Linked DNA regions of Homo sapiens: region 1 is linked to region 2. Evidence: promoter capture Hi-C in human tissues and cell types (Jung and others, 2019). All regions are on one chromosome and are shown on one strand. The core of a region is centred on a gene start or on the middle of the fragment in contact, and the rest is flanking DNA. Distances in the headings are between cores, read along the strand shown.

What was found. Contacts are between HindIII fragments. The study calls those that stand out against the background at their distance.
Region 1: a fragment that was not itself captured here is called in contact with the fragment with the promoter of POMK in region 2 in 1 of the 25 tissues and cell types used here (hippocampus).

Annotation. Positions count from the first base shown.
Region 1 is chr8:42,040,364-42,047,063 of GRCh38, forward strand. The region is part of intron 2 of KAT6A (lysine acetyltransferase 6A); the gene reads right to left. LOC124900271 (small nucleolar RNA SNORD112) reads right to left here and starts at 3,212; the gene lies at 3,141-3,212. The HindIII fragment of the contact is 7,148 bases long and covers 1-6,043 here.
Region 2 is chr8:43,087,437-43,094,960 of GRCh38, forward strand. It overlaps POMK (protein O-mannose kinase), which reads left to right and starts at 6,079. Exons shown (of 5, transcript NM_032237.5): 1 at 6,079-6,127. RefSeq lists enhancers at 3,519-3,708, 5,043-5,949, 5,950-6,855 and a silencer at 6,107-6,316. The HindIII fragment of the contact is 5,704 bases long and covers 3,216-7,524 here.

The sequences.
Region 1 (6,700 bases), core at 1,220-3,719, 1.1 Mb before region 2:
ATTTCACCAATTGGAAGGTAGACCAAGAAAGAGTAAAGTACTTATTCGCTAGAAAAATGTCTAGGTTGTAAGCATAAGAAAAATTGGTGGCTGGGCATGGTGGCTCACACCTGTAATCCCAGCACTTTGGGAGGCCAAGGCGGGTGGATCACCTGAGGTCAGGAGTTCGAGACCAGCCTGGCCAACGTGGCAAAACCCTGTCTCTACTAAAAATACAAAAAATTAGCCAGGCGTGGTGGCGGGTGCATGTAAACCCAGCTACTCGGGAGGCTGAGGCAGGAGAATCGCCTGAACCCAGGAGGCGGAGGCTGCAGTGAGCCGAGATCGCACCATTGCACTCCAGCCTAAGTGACAAGAGCAAGACTCTGTCTCAAAAAAAAAAAAAAAAAAAAAAAAAGAAAGAAAGAAAGAAAAGAAAAATTGGTTTGGTATAGAACTTTGGATTAGTAATGGCTAACCCAAGCTTTAGTAGCTCAGTAGCTTTATTTCGAGGTATGTCATGCACTGAAAATTACCAAAAATCATTGTGCTCATAGGTGAACCAGAAGATCAAAAAAATCTGCACAGTTGGCCAGGTACAGTGGCTCACACCTATAATCCCAGCACTTTGGGAAGCCAATCAGGAGTTTGAGATTCGTCTGGCCAACACAGTGAAGCCCCATCTTTACTAAAAATACAAAAATTAGCCAGGCATGGTGGCGCATGCCTGTAATCCCAGCTATTTGGGAGACTGAGGCAGGAGAATCACTTGAACCTGGGAGGCAGAGGTTGCAGTGAGCCAAGGTTGCGCCACTGCACTCCAGTCTGGGCAAGAGTGAGATTCCGTCTCAAAAAAAAAAAAAAAAAAAAACTGTGCAGCTGATTGTACTTAAACAGATACTATTTTACAAACATATCTCTGAGTTATTTTTAAATTTCTGAATTTTTGAAGAATAAATCTGCTAAGACAAAATTAATTCCTAACCAGATTTACAATTAATCCACCTCAATGACTTGTTAGTAACAAATTTTTATTTCTAGGCCACTGCTCCTGGTACATTTGGAGTCACAAACAAATGGTATAAACAATGATGTCAGAAATGTACGGCATGGGCCGGGCATGGTGGCTGACGCCTGTAATCCTAGCACTTTGGGAGGCGGAGGTGGGCGGATCACCTGAGGTCAGGAGTTCGAGAACACAACTGGCCAACATGGTGAAACCCCATTTCTATTAAAAATACAAAAATTAGGTAGGTATGGTGGCACACGCCTGTAATCGCAGACAGCAGGAGGGGAGAGGCAGTAGAATTGCTTCAACCTGGAAGGCGGAGGTTGCAGTGAGCTGAAACTGGGCCACCGCACTCCAGCCTAAGCAACAGAGCAAGACTCCATCTCAAAAAAAAAAAAGAAAAGAAATGCATGTCATAAAAAATGTTTAAATTATTAAATATAACAATTACTGAGATCAATCCATTTCACACTTGATAATAGCTACATTTTCCACGTCACTGTATCCTCAATATTTTATCTTTTGCCTTCAGAAGATTTTTTGTTTTTTTTGTTTTTCCAAAGTGAACAATCATTCTGTCAAGCAGTCCACATAGCCCTGAATTTAATAGCATGGACAACTATTTATTGCCTTTTTATACAGTATCAACGCAACAGAGTAATTGAAATTGAAATTTCCAAGCTTATATTGGTTAACAATTTTCTTATAAAATACCACCATTCTAACATATAAAATGTGCAACTATTCTACTATAAAGGTCATTTCCAAATAGCTAAATCAAAACTTCATCACTCTTAACTTTCAGTAACTTAAAAACATATCCCTGGCCGGGCACGGTGGCTCACGCCTATAATCCCAGCACTCTGGGAGGCCGAGGCAGGCGGATCATGAGGTCAGGAGTTCGAGACCAGCCTGGCCAACCTGGTGAAACCCCATCTCTACTAAAAATATAAAAATTAGCCGGGCATGGTGGCATGCGCCTATAATCCCAGCTTACTCGGGAGGCTGAGGCAGGAGAATCGCTTGAACCCAGGAGGTGGAGGTTGCACCACTGCACTCCAGCCTGGGCAACAAAGCAAGACTCCATCTCTCAAAAAAAAAAAAAAAATCCCCATTTTAATCAGTATCTCTACATCGAAAATTTAAATTCTAAATTCCTGTCAAAGCTCTACTTCCTCTATAATTTAAAATATAAATTCCAATAAAACAAAATAATTTGGACTCTACTAAGAGTTGACCAAATTGAGATGTAACTTAGAGTAGAAGGCAAGAGATTTATCATTGGATCTTTCTGCTCCAGGTTACCCAGCTGGGAGTAACCTGAACAATAACATTAGTTGACAATACCTACTCTTCCCTGTCCAACTGAACGCTTTAGCAAATTATAATTCTGTTCCAAAATACTATGCCACCAAATAACAATACTTTTAATGATCTGGCTGATTACCATGAAAGAGAATATTTTTCTGGGCTAGTAATACAGAACACAAACTATATATATTCAAGTAAATTATGTCAGTGTGTAAAAATGAACTCAGAAGTTTGAAATCAAGGTGAAAACTATTCTTGAAAGGAAATTGAATCTTTCCAAGACTCACTATATAAAGATAATTTTTTAAATGGACCATCACAGTCTCAAATAATTGCCTTGCCCACTAAACATATTATTATTTCTGAGTCATGATACTTAATTGTTATGAAAAAATAATAATGTAAAAAAATTACAGTTCATAAACTAAAAAAGGCTTTCAAAAAATTTATTTTGTATCTCTATTCTGTCTGCTTTAATCCCCTCACAGGACCTAAATCTTAAATCCACTGTTCATGGCAGGCATTCAAATGTTTGCTAAATAAATAATGAATAACTGAAGTAAATGGAACAAATTACCTTACAGTAATATCTATATTTCAAAAAGAAATTTACAAAGAGGAAGATGCTATTTAAGCCAGTTACACACTCTTCTCCTCACCTATAATCCCATGATTCAAGGAAAACAGTATTTCTGTCCCAAATTAAAGCACTCTGGTATAGCAATACAACTGATCCCTACCTTGCCTATCAGAAAATGTTAGTGACAACTGAAATGAAAATTAGTTAGCACAGAAATTATCTTTAAGGGAAAAAAATGGCATGTAGGTGAAACTTTTTTTTAATGGACCTCAGATATACAAAACTAGATTACTCCTAATCTTTGGTTCCTAACACATTCTTATCACTGGTCCAAAGTGAATTTTCAAATCTGTTCTGCAAAAAAAGAAAAATGGACACAATGAAGACGGGCGGGAATTTGTCCTTTAACAATTAGGAAATGTGCTATGAAGTTAACACCAAGGACATTCACGATTCTGTACTTGAGTGCAGTGATAGCCATCATACATTACTGCTCCTAAGAGGTGGTCAGTATGGCTATTACAAAGACTCTGGAGCCAGACTGCCCAAATTCAAATCCCAGCTCTGCCACCTAATATTTGTGTGACTTCAGCAAGTTACTGAAATCTCTTTTATGCCTCAGTTTCTTCACCTGTAAAATAACAGTAGCTATTTCACTGCTGGTACTGTTATGTTATTAATAACTAACTAACCTAACAGTAGCTAGTTATGTTAGAGGATTAAATGAGTTAATATATATACAGCATTAAAATAACGCCTGGCACATAGTAAATAAACACTTTAATAAATAAACTCACCATTAACTACCACACTCTAAAGTTAGCTCAAAAATTTCCCTTATAACATGGGTAAAAACTTTTTTTTTTTTTTTTTTTTGAGATGGAGTCTTGCTCTGTTGCCCAGGCTGGAGTGCAGTGGCACAATCTAGGCTCGCTACAACCTCCGCCTCCTGGGTTCAAGCGATTATCCTGCCTCAGCCTACCGAGTAGCTGGGATTACAGGCACCCACCATCATGCCGGGCTGATTTTTGTATTCTGTAGAGATGGGGTTTCACCATATTGGCCAGGCTGGTCCTGAACTCCTGACCTCAGGTGATCCACCCCCCCCTCGGCATCCCAAAGTGCTGGGATTACAGGCCTGAGCCACCAGGCCTGGCCTAAAAACTTTTAATCACAGTATCCCATGGATTCTCCTCAGTACTTATCAATGTGAAAAGAACACACTAAAGTTCCAATGTCTTCACAAAAACTCCTCTTAAACGTATTCCAACACAGTTGATCTCCCAAAAGGATCAAAACCACTCAGCTGCCGAAAATCTAACATACAGTTCCTTCCAAAGGTTAATATCACCAAAAAAAAACAAAAAGTTAGAATTGATACCAGAAAAAGTAAAGAGGAACTTGCTCGGGTTACTCCACGCAGTCTTTGAATTTCATCTTCACCTTACAGTTGGCCAGGTCAATAGAAATACCTGCATTAGCATCCCAGAGAAGACAGAACTGTTTCTGTTCCAAGCAGAGTGCCTGGCCCACAGTAGGTGCTCAATGACTATATGCTGAACCAATTAATTCCTAAAAGTGAAACTACTCCTGACCTATACACCTTCCTTTCTCCATCACTGTCAAATAAACTCTGGATAATTCTTTTCTTTTTTTGAGAACATCTAGGTTCGTAACAGCAAACTATCAATTCTGCATAGCAACTGACTGCGTAGTTCGAAGGAGAGGAAAGAAAATAGTTAAAATACAATAAAAGGAGCAGACATAATCTGTTCAAAGGAATAATCTCTCATCCTAGAGTTCACTGTATTACGATTTTTAATGTAAACTTTTCATATCTTTGGGGGAAGTCACACAGGAAATTCACTACTGAAAATAAGACTCCATTTAAAAATATAGAACAGAGCTCACCAACTCTAATTGAATAGATACTATCATGAAATTAGTTTTCCAATGAGATTAGTACATATACAAGTCTACCTGAAGAAACAAACTCTATTTTCCAACATGTCTAAATTTAGTTACTTCAGTTAACACTATAGGCAGGGTGGCTCATGCCTGTAATGCCAGCACTTTGGGAGGCCAAGGTGGGCGGATCACCTGAGGTTGGGAGTTCGAGATGAGCCTGACCAACAGGGAGAAACCCCGTCTCTACTAAAAATACAAAATTAGCCAGGCATGGTGGTCAGCATGCCTGTAATCCCAGCTACATGGGAGGCTGAGAAGGAAGAATTGCTTGAACCTGGGCAGCGGAGGCTGCAGTAAGCCAAGATCGTGCCACTGCACTCCAGCCTGGGCAACAAGAGCGAAATTCCATCTCAAAAAAAAAAAAAAAACAAAAAAACACTATATATGAAAGCTATGTAAGCAAATGGGCATTTCTTTTTCATTTTTTCAATTATTAAATCACTTTTGTTTTTCTTGCTTTATTTCTCCAAAATCAAATGTGGCCAGGTGCGGTGGATCATTCCTATAATCTTGGCACTTTGAGAGACCGAGGTGGGCAGGTCGCTTGAGGTCAGGAGTTGAGACCAGCCTAGCCAACATGGTGAAACCCTGTCTCTACTAAAAATACAAAAAAAAAAAAAAAAAAGTAGCCACACGTGGTGGCGCAAACCTATAATCCCAGCTACTCAGGAGGTTGAGGCAGAAGAATCGCTTGAACCCGGGAGGCGAAGGTTGCAGTGAGCTGAGATCACACCACTGCACTCCAGTCAAAGCAAAACAGCACATCTCTACTGAATTAAACTTTTCTTAATGCAAAGGTGCTATGAAATGGTCTCAACAAAGGTCCTTAGCTCAGCTGCAAAATAAGGACTTGGATTAGACGGTTCTCAGGGTCCCTTCCAAAAGTAAAATCTCAGGGTTCTAGGACTTGGATTTGTCTTGCACTGTACTATATTTACTACCTTTTAAAAATATGCTCAAATGACATTTTTATATAGCTAATATTTTTTAAAATTATCTATTGATAATTCAAGCAAGTGTAATTACAATAAAAGCAAACAACAGGCCAGGCACGGTGGCTCAAGCCTGTAATCCCAACACTTTGGGAGGCAGAGGCGGGTGGATCACTCGAGGTCAGGAGTTCGAGACCAGCCTGGCCAACAAGGTGAAACCCCGTCTCTACTAAAAATACAAAAATTAGCCGGGCGTGGTGGTGCATGTCTGTAATCCCAGCTACTTGGGAGGCTGAGGCAAGAGAATCGCTTGAACCTGGGAGGCGGAGGTTGCAGTGAGACTGCACCACTGCACTCCAGCCTGGGTGACAGAACGAGATTCTGTCTCAAAAATAAATAAATAAAAGCAAACAGGTGGCCTAACAGGAACTTATAACATCCAATTCACAGGTATGGCACTGAACTGATCTAACTATAAATTATTTCCTGTTTCCAGGCAGTTAACCTGTTAGATCATTTAATAATTGTAGAAATCCGATAACTGTATTTAAATTCAGCCACATGTGATAAAGTTTCTACAGGTAAGAGTTCTTACAGCACTTAAATATAGAATAAAGCATTTTAATTACTTGTCTACCCTGAATTTTTAATATATACTTTTAATAAATGCTCAAATTACATAGAGCCATTTTATGAATGAGATTCTCTATCAATTCATGACTGTATGAGAATCATTTCAAGGGTAATAACAGTAAGATTATGTTTTATTTCAATGTTCACAGGGAAAATTGAACCCTGAAATAGATCTCTAAAAATTTCATCAAAGAAAAATACCGTTAATTTTCAATTGTTAAAGAAAAATCTACAGGTATTCAGTGGGCTGCTAATAATACAACAAATTGAGATCAAATCTCCAATTTT
Region 2 (7,524 bases), core at 4,829-7,328:
GCATAGTGAGGCCGGGTGGAGTGGCTCATGCCTATAGTACCAGCACTTTGGGAGGCCGAGGCAGGAGGACTGCTTGAGCCCTGGAATTCAAGACCTGCCTGGGCAACAGCAAGATCTCATCTCTACAAAAATATTTTTTAAAGTTATTAGTGAAGAGTGGTGTGCGCCTGTAGTCCCAGCAACCCGGGAGGCTGGGGTGGGAGGATCACTTGAGCCAGGGTGGTCCAGGCTGCAGTGAGCCATGGTCGTGCCACTGCAGCCTGGGTGACAGAGTGAGACTGTGTCTCAAAAACTGTTTAAAAAATGAGTTTGTCATTTCAAGGAAAACAACGGAATGTTGCCAGTGATAAAATGTGAGCTTGCTTGCTTGCTTTTTTTTTTTTTTTTGAGACGGAGTTTCACTCTTGTTGCCCAGGCTGGAGAGCAATGGCATGATCTCGGCTCACCACAACCTCCGCCTCCCGGGTTCAAGCGATTCTCCTGCCTCAACCTCCCAAGTAGCTGGGATTATAGGCGTCCGCCACCACGCCCAGCTAATTTTTTGTATTTTTAGTAGAGACAGGGTTTCCCCATGTTGGCGAGGCTGGTGTTGAACTCCAGACCTCAGGTCATCTACCAGCCTCGGCCTCCCAAAGTGCTGGGATTACAGGCATGAGCCACCGTGCCAGGCCAAAAATGTGAGCTTTCAAGTGACAATTTTAGGCTGGACGTGGTGGCTCATGCCTGTAATCCCAGCACTTTGGGAGGCTGAGGCAGGTGGATCACTTGAGGTCAGGAGTTTGAGACCAGTCTGGCCAATGTAGTGAAACCCCATTTCTACTAAATATACAGAAACTAGCTGGGTGTGGTGGCACGCACCTATAATCCCAGCTACTTGGGGGGCTAAGGCAGGGGAATCACTTGAACCCAGGAGGCGGAGGTTGCAGTGAGCCGAGATTGCACCACTGTACTCCAGCCTGGGCAACAAAGTGAAATTTCATCTCAAAAAAAAAAAAAAAAGTATTAATTCTCAGGGGTTTGGAGAATTTCCTGTTATCTCTGTTATTTCTAGTTGGTTTTATTTTGTTTTAGTGGTACTCCAGGGGTTACAAAATATTCAACTTTTCACAGCCTATTTAGAATATTTTGTCACTTCAGTTGGCATATGGAAACATTACCACCATATGTCTCCTTACCGTTCACCATTTCTTACATTGAAAACCCCATCAGAGGCTGGGCGCGGTGGCTCACGCCTGTAATCCCAGCACTTTGAAGACCGAGGCGGGCGGATCACGAGGTCAGGAGATCGAGACCATCGTGGATAACACGGTGAAACCCCATCTCTACTAAAAATACAAAAAATTAGCCGGGCATGGTGGCGGGCGCCTGTAGTCCCAGCTACTCGGGAGGCTGAGCCAGGAGAATGGCGTGAACCCGGGAGGCAGAGCTTGCAGTGAGCCGAGATCGCACCACTGCACTCCAGCCTGGGTGACAGAGTGAGACTCTGTCTCAAAAAAAAAACAGAAAAAAAAAGACAAAAAAAAAAAAAAAAAAACAAAAACCCATCAGATAATCTTATAATACTTTTGTATTAAACCACCAAACATATTTTAAAGAACTCAAGAAAAGAAGGAGAGTGTATCGCATTTACCCAGTTATTTATATTCTCTGTTATTCTTTCATTTCTGTTATTCTGTCCAAAGAACTTTCTCTTTTTTTTGAGATGGAGTCTCACTCTGTCGCTTAGGCTGGAGTGCAGTGGCGTGATCTCAGATCACTGCAAACTTTGCCTCCCAGGTTCAAGCAACCTCAGTGCCTCAGCCTTGCCAGTAGCTGGGATTACAGGCACGTGCCACCACGCCCAGCTGATTTTTGTATTTTTAGTAGAGATGGGATTTCACCATATTGGCCAGGCTGGTCTCGAACTCCTGACCTCGGGTGATCTGCCCGCCTCAGCCTCCCAAAGTGCTGGGATTACAGGCTTGAGCCACCAAAGAACTCTTTTAGCAGTTCTGTTAGAGTAGGTCTGCAGGCTACAAATTCTCTTAGTTTTCCTTCATCTTAGTTTATTTCAAGGTTATTCCTGAAGGATGTTTTCACTGCATATGGAATTCTGGGCTTGCAATTCTTTTCTTTCAGCACTTGAAAAACGTTGTGCCACTTTGGTCTTCATGATCTCAGAGGATAAATTCACTGTCATTAGGATTGTGGGTCACCTACAGCTCGTGGCATTTCTCTTTGGCTGTTTTCAATTTTTTTTCCTTGTCTTTATTTTTCAGCAGTTTGATTTTGATGTGTCTGGGCATGGATGTCTTTGGATTTATTGCATTTGGGGTTTGCTCAGTTTTTTGAATCTGTAGGTTGGTGTTTCTTTCCCAAACTTGGGAAGTTTTCAGCCATTATTTCTTCAAAAGCTTTTTAGTGCTTTCTTTCTCATCTGCTTTGGGATTCTGATGGCATAAATATTAGACCTTTTGTTATGTCCCACAGGTGCTTGAAGTTTTATTAATTTTCCCCTCCTCTCTGTTGGTCAGTTTGGATAATTTCTATTAATCTGTCTTCATGTTCACTGACTCCTCTGTCATTTCCATTCTGCCATTGAATCTATCCAGTGAGTTTTAAAATTTGATTATTGTACTTTTCTATTTTAAATGTTTATTTGGTTCCTCTTACTTTCTCCAAGTTTTTTACTCATACTTTCTTTTTTAAAATTATTATTTTTTATTTGTTTGAGACAGAGTCTCGCTCGGTGGCCCAGGCTGGAGTACAATGGCACGATCTCGGCTCACTGCAACCTCCACCTCCCAGGTACAAGCGATTCTCCTGCCTCAGCCTCCTGAGTGCACCTGCCACCATGTCCGGCTAATTTTTGTATTTTTAATAGAGACAGGGTTTCACCATGTTAGCCAGGCTGGTCTCGAACTCCTGATCTCAAGTGATTCGCCTGCCTCAGCCTCTCAAAGTCTTGGGATTACAGGCGCGAGCCACTGTGCCCAGCCCCATACTTTCTATTTTAACTTTTGTTTCAAGAATGTTTATAATTTTTTGAGCATTTTCATAACTAATGTCTTTTTCAGATAATCCTAACAGTCATTTTATAGTTGGTGACTCTTGATTATCTTTTCCCATGCAAGTTGAGATTTTTGTGATGGTTCATATGCCTAGCAATTTTGTATCCTGAGCATTTTGAATATTATGAGGCTCTAATTCTTGTTTAAATCCTATGGAGAATGTTGGCATTTTAATTTTTTTTTTTTGAGAAGGAGTCTTGCTCTGTCACTCAGGCTAGAGTGCAGTGCTGTGATCTGGGCTCACTGAAACCTCTGCCTCCTGGGTTCAAGTGATTCTTGTGCCTCAACCTTCCGGGCAGTTGGGATTACAGGCATCCGCCACCATGCCCGGCTATTTTTTTTTTTTTTTTTTTTTTAAGTAGAGACCGGGTTCCACCATGTTTACCAGGCTGGTCTCAAACTCCTAACCTCAGGTGATCTGCCCTCCCTAAGTGCTGGGATTACAGGTGTGAGCTACCGCGCCTGGCCAACAGTTTAATTTAAGCAAGCACATGAACTAGTTAGGGACAGCCTGCAGGTTCCGATCTTCTTCTGGGGTTCATGTTCCAAAGTGAGTTCTGTGTTCATACCCTCTGTGGGGCTATTTGGATCTGTCTCGTGGCTGCATCCTCCCGTAGTTTGGTACCTGAACAAAAATCTGTTCATGAGCACAGTTCTCTGAGTGTTTGGTGTGCTCGTTAAGTCGATGATACGCAGGTCAGCGATGAGCCCAAGAGTTCAAAAACAACTCTGTGAGGTTGCTTGCCAGATGCTCTCACCTTCCGCTATCTTCTCAGTGTTTTTAGGTTCCCTCAGGTTTCAGTGCGCTGGTCTGAAACTTCCCACTTTCAGTTTGGCTTGGGGGAGCTGCCCACTTCCACAATTGTGCCACAGCAGTGGGAAACAGTTAAAAACAACAAAACACCAAGTTTGTGTCTGTCCTCTTGGAGCTGCAGTGCTACTGAATGGAAAGGACTATCTCTTTCCCTCAGACTTTTGGCTGCTGAAGCTTTTTGCTCTGGCCTTGGGCTTGACTGGGGGCTGGAGTGCAAAGAAAAGAAGAAAATAGAAAGAACAGGGAATTTTCTTCACTCCCTCTGAGGGTTAGGAGTTTCCTTTTCTGCTCCACGAGCCAGAATCAGAGGGTTTCTCCCGAGTCTCTGTGTGTGCCCCCGACACTCAGTTCCAGGCTTTGGACTACCTTCAGCTTGAAGATGGGTGACACAACCAGTTTGATGGTGCGTCAAATTCTGCTGTTCTTTTTATTTTTAATTTTTTGTTTGAATTTAATTCCTCTAATTTTTCATCAGTGTTAAAATTTCACCTTTTCCCAGCACCCCCAAAAAGCCTGTGGGCACAAAATGGTGGCCACGTGGCAAAGAACTCAGCAAGGAGAGCTGCTGGTTGGTTTCTATCTTTGTTTGTTTGAGACGGAGCTTTGCTCTTTTGCCCAGGCTAGAGTGAAGTTGTTGGGGAAACCAGCCCCACACCACCCGGCGGGTACCCCGAGTCCAGCGAAGACAAAGGAATTAGAATAAGAGTTTAAAAGGCGGGTCCGGGGGACCGGAGCGTTGGAGGCTTGCTCACGGCCCCGAGCTCTCGGCCTCCACCCAATTTATTGGTGTATATTCACACTGTTGTGCAACCATCACCCCCATCCATCTCCAGGACTTTACCATCTTCTCACACTGAAACTGTGCACCCGTTAGTATTTTTCATGGCTATGTGGATGTAATATAATTTCTTTCAGAAACCCCTATTGTTATACATTCAGGTTTCTTTTTTTCTCTATTATAAATATCTTTTATCAGCAATGCTTCAGCAAGATCTCTTGTGCATACATCTTGCAGACATATTATTTCTTTTTCTTTTTTTTTTTTTTTTTTTTTGAGACGGAGTCTCGCTCTGTCACCCAGGCTGGAGTACAGTGGCGCGATCTCGGCTCACTGCAAGCTCCGCCTCCCGGGTTCACGCCATTCTCACGCCCGCCACCATGCCCGGCTAATTTTTTGTATTTTTAGTAGAGACGGGGTTTCACCGTGTTATCCAGGATGGTCTCGGTCTCCTGACCTCGTGATCCGCCCACCTCGGCCTCCCAAAGTCCTGGGATTACAGGCATGAGCCACGGCGCCCGGCCACAGACGTTATTTCTGAAGGATAAATTCCTAGAAATGGATTTGCTAGGGCACGTAGGAGGAATTCCAATTTACACTCACTTGTATGTGTGAGGAAACTTTCAGACTCTACTGTAACGACAGGAGGTATTACCGCTGTTTGTCCATGTGATAGGCAAACGTTTCTGTTAATTTTAATACTGTTTGGATAGCTAGTACCGGCTCAGTTTTTTTAACCCACACCATGTTACTGTCTTGATTCTGGACTTTCGCAGTGTGTCAGTGTAGAAGCAGCTAACGCTTCCGATGTACACAACCTAGACGTTCCATGACCCAGCTGACTTCGATGCTGCAAGCCTCCCTTTCGGTTTCCCGGAGCAAGCGCCCGAGTGCGTGTTGGGCTCCCGGCAGGGCTCCTGGCCGGCCCTCGACGGACTTCCCCGCCTTTGCCCAGTCCTGCCCCTCCGCGGAGGCTTGCCAAGGTCTTGTCTGCTGCGCTTGATGTGTGCAGCTCAGCTTTACTGCGTCTAGGCTAAGCCCCACAGTTTCTTTTACAGAGCGATTGTCCAACTTCAGGCATCTGGGTCCCCGAGTGGCGGGTCTGGGCCGGAGCTGGGAATCAGCCTTTCCAGCAAGGTCCCTGCAGATGCCGCGGGTCTGAGGACTACGCTTTGGAAGGCCTCGCAGTGCGTCTAGATCTGACAGCTGCTCTGCATGAGCCTGGCTCCAGGCTGAAGCAATAGTCGGTCAACACAAAATCGTTCTCCCAAGTTAGGGAAGCAGAAGCCAGACAGGGAGACTGGGTAGGTGCGCGCTGGTACCGCCGCGGCGTTCGCTCCGGCTTCAGTGCACGGCCGGAGGAGGACGCCAGGGGGCAGCAGCGCCACGCTCACCCGCCCAGGACGCGCTTCCGAACGCGCAAGCGCAGTAGGCCCAGTGCGTGCTGGCCCGGGGTGGCAGGAGCCGCAGAGGCTTGGGCTGCAGGTAGGTGCTGCGGCGAGGGGTGAGAGGGCGAAGGGGCGAGGGGGCGTGCAGCTGGGTTTCCCGGGGGACCCTGTACGTGGCCTGGGCCGCACCCCCCGCAGCCCCGGCCGCCTGCCCGCGGCCTGTCCGGAGGCTCCCTAGGAGGCTGCGCTGGGCCTGAGCGGCCGTGTCCACCGCGCCCAGCCCCTATCTCCGCGTCCACCCCTGCGCGGTAGCGGGACGTTAAAGAACCAGAGAAGGGCCCGGCGAGGTGGCTCCAGCCTGTAATCCCAGCGCTTTGGGAGGCCGAGGCGGGAGGATCGCGTGAGCTCAGGCGAGAGCAGCCTGGGCAACATGGCGGAACTTCTGTCTCCGTAAAAAAGCACTTAGCCGGGCGCGGTGGCGCCGCCTATAGTCTTATCTACTCCGGAGGCTGAGGCGGGAGAATGCTTGAACCCGGCGGGGGCGGAGGTTTCAGTGAGCCGAAATCGCGCCACTGCACTTCAGCCTGGGGGCCAGAGTGAGAGGCTGTTTCTATTATTATTACTTTATCATTATTATTATTATTTGAGACGGAGTCTCGCTCTGTCGCCCAGGCTGGAGTGTAGTGGCGCGGTCTTGGCTCCTGGGATTACAGGCGTCCGCCACCACGCCCGGCTAATTTTTGTATTTTTAGTAGAAACGGGGTTTCCCCATGTTGGTCAGGCTGGTCTCGAACGCCTGACCTCAGGTGATCCGCCCGCCTCTGCCTCCCAAAGTGCTGGGATTACAGGCGTGAGCTACTGGGTCCGGCAGAGGCTGTCTCTGTTTAAAAAAACAAAAACCAAACCAAACCAAAACAAAACAAAAAACAAAAAAACCAGAAAGGACCGAGGACTCTGTCTCAGCTCTTTGCCTTTGGGTGTTTATTCTGCACGAGATCATTGTTGCCAGGAGGTGTTAAGTGTAATCATATTCTCTTTTTTTTAGAAAGCAAAATTTCGCTGTTTTGTTGCATAATCTTGTCTTTGCCACCCTTTGCCTTTGCTATAGAACCTTAAGGCTAAATAAGCGTTCAGAATATTTAAAATAATCCTCTTAATGTACCTTGTGCTTTATTGGCGCAATGGAATTCTACTCTAAACTGTATTGGATGACATTACTCTGTGTCTTCCCTAGTTGTAGAAAATATCTTGTAAGTCGGTAAAAACTAGTTTTGTCCCTTTGCTTTTCTTTTCTTTTTAAGCTGTAAATGTGGAGCAGTGGGTCCCAAGCCTTTCTCTATCAATAAGCCTTCCTATCAGTGTCAGAAATGCTTTGCATTTCAGTCGTGCCTGAATTTCTTCTGCCCAACCTGCCCCACCATCTTTATTCCTTAATGTGCAGGCTGTTTTCAGGACCAGTAAATTTCAGTGGTTTTTGCTTACTTCTGGACACGA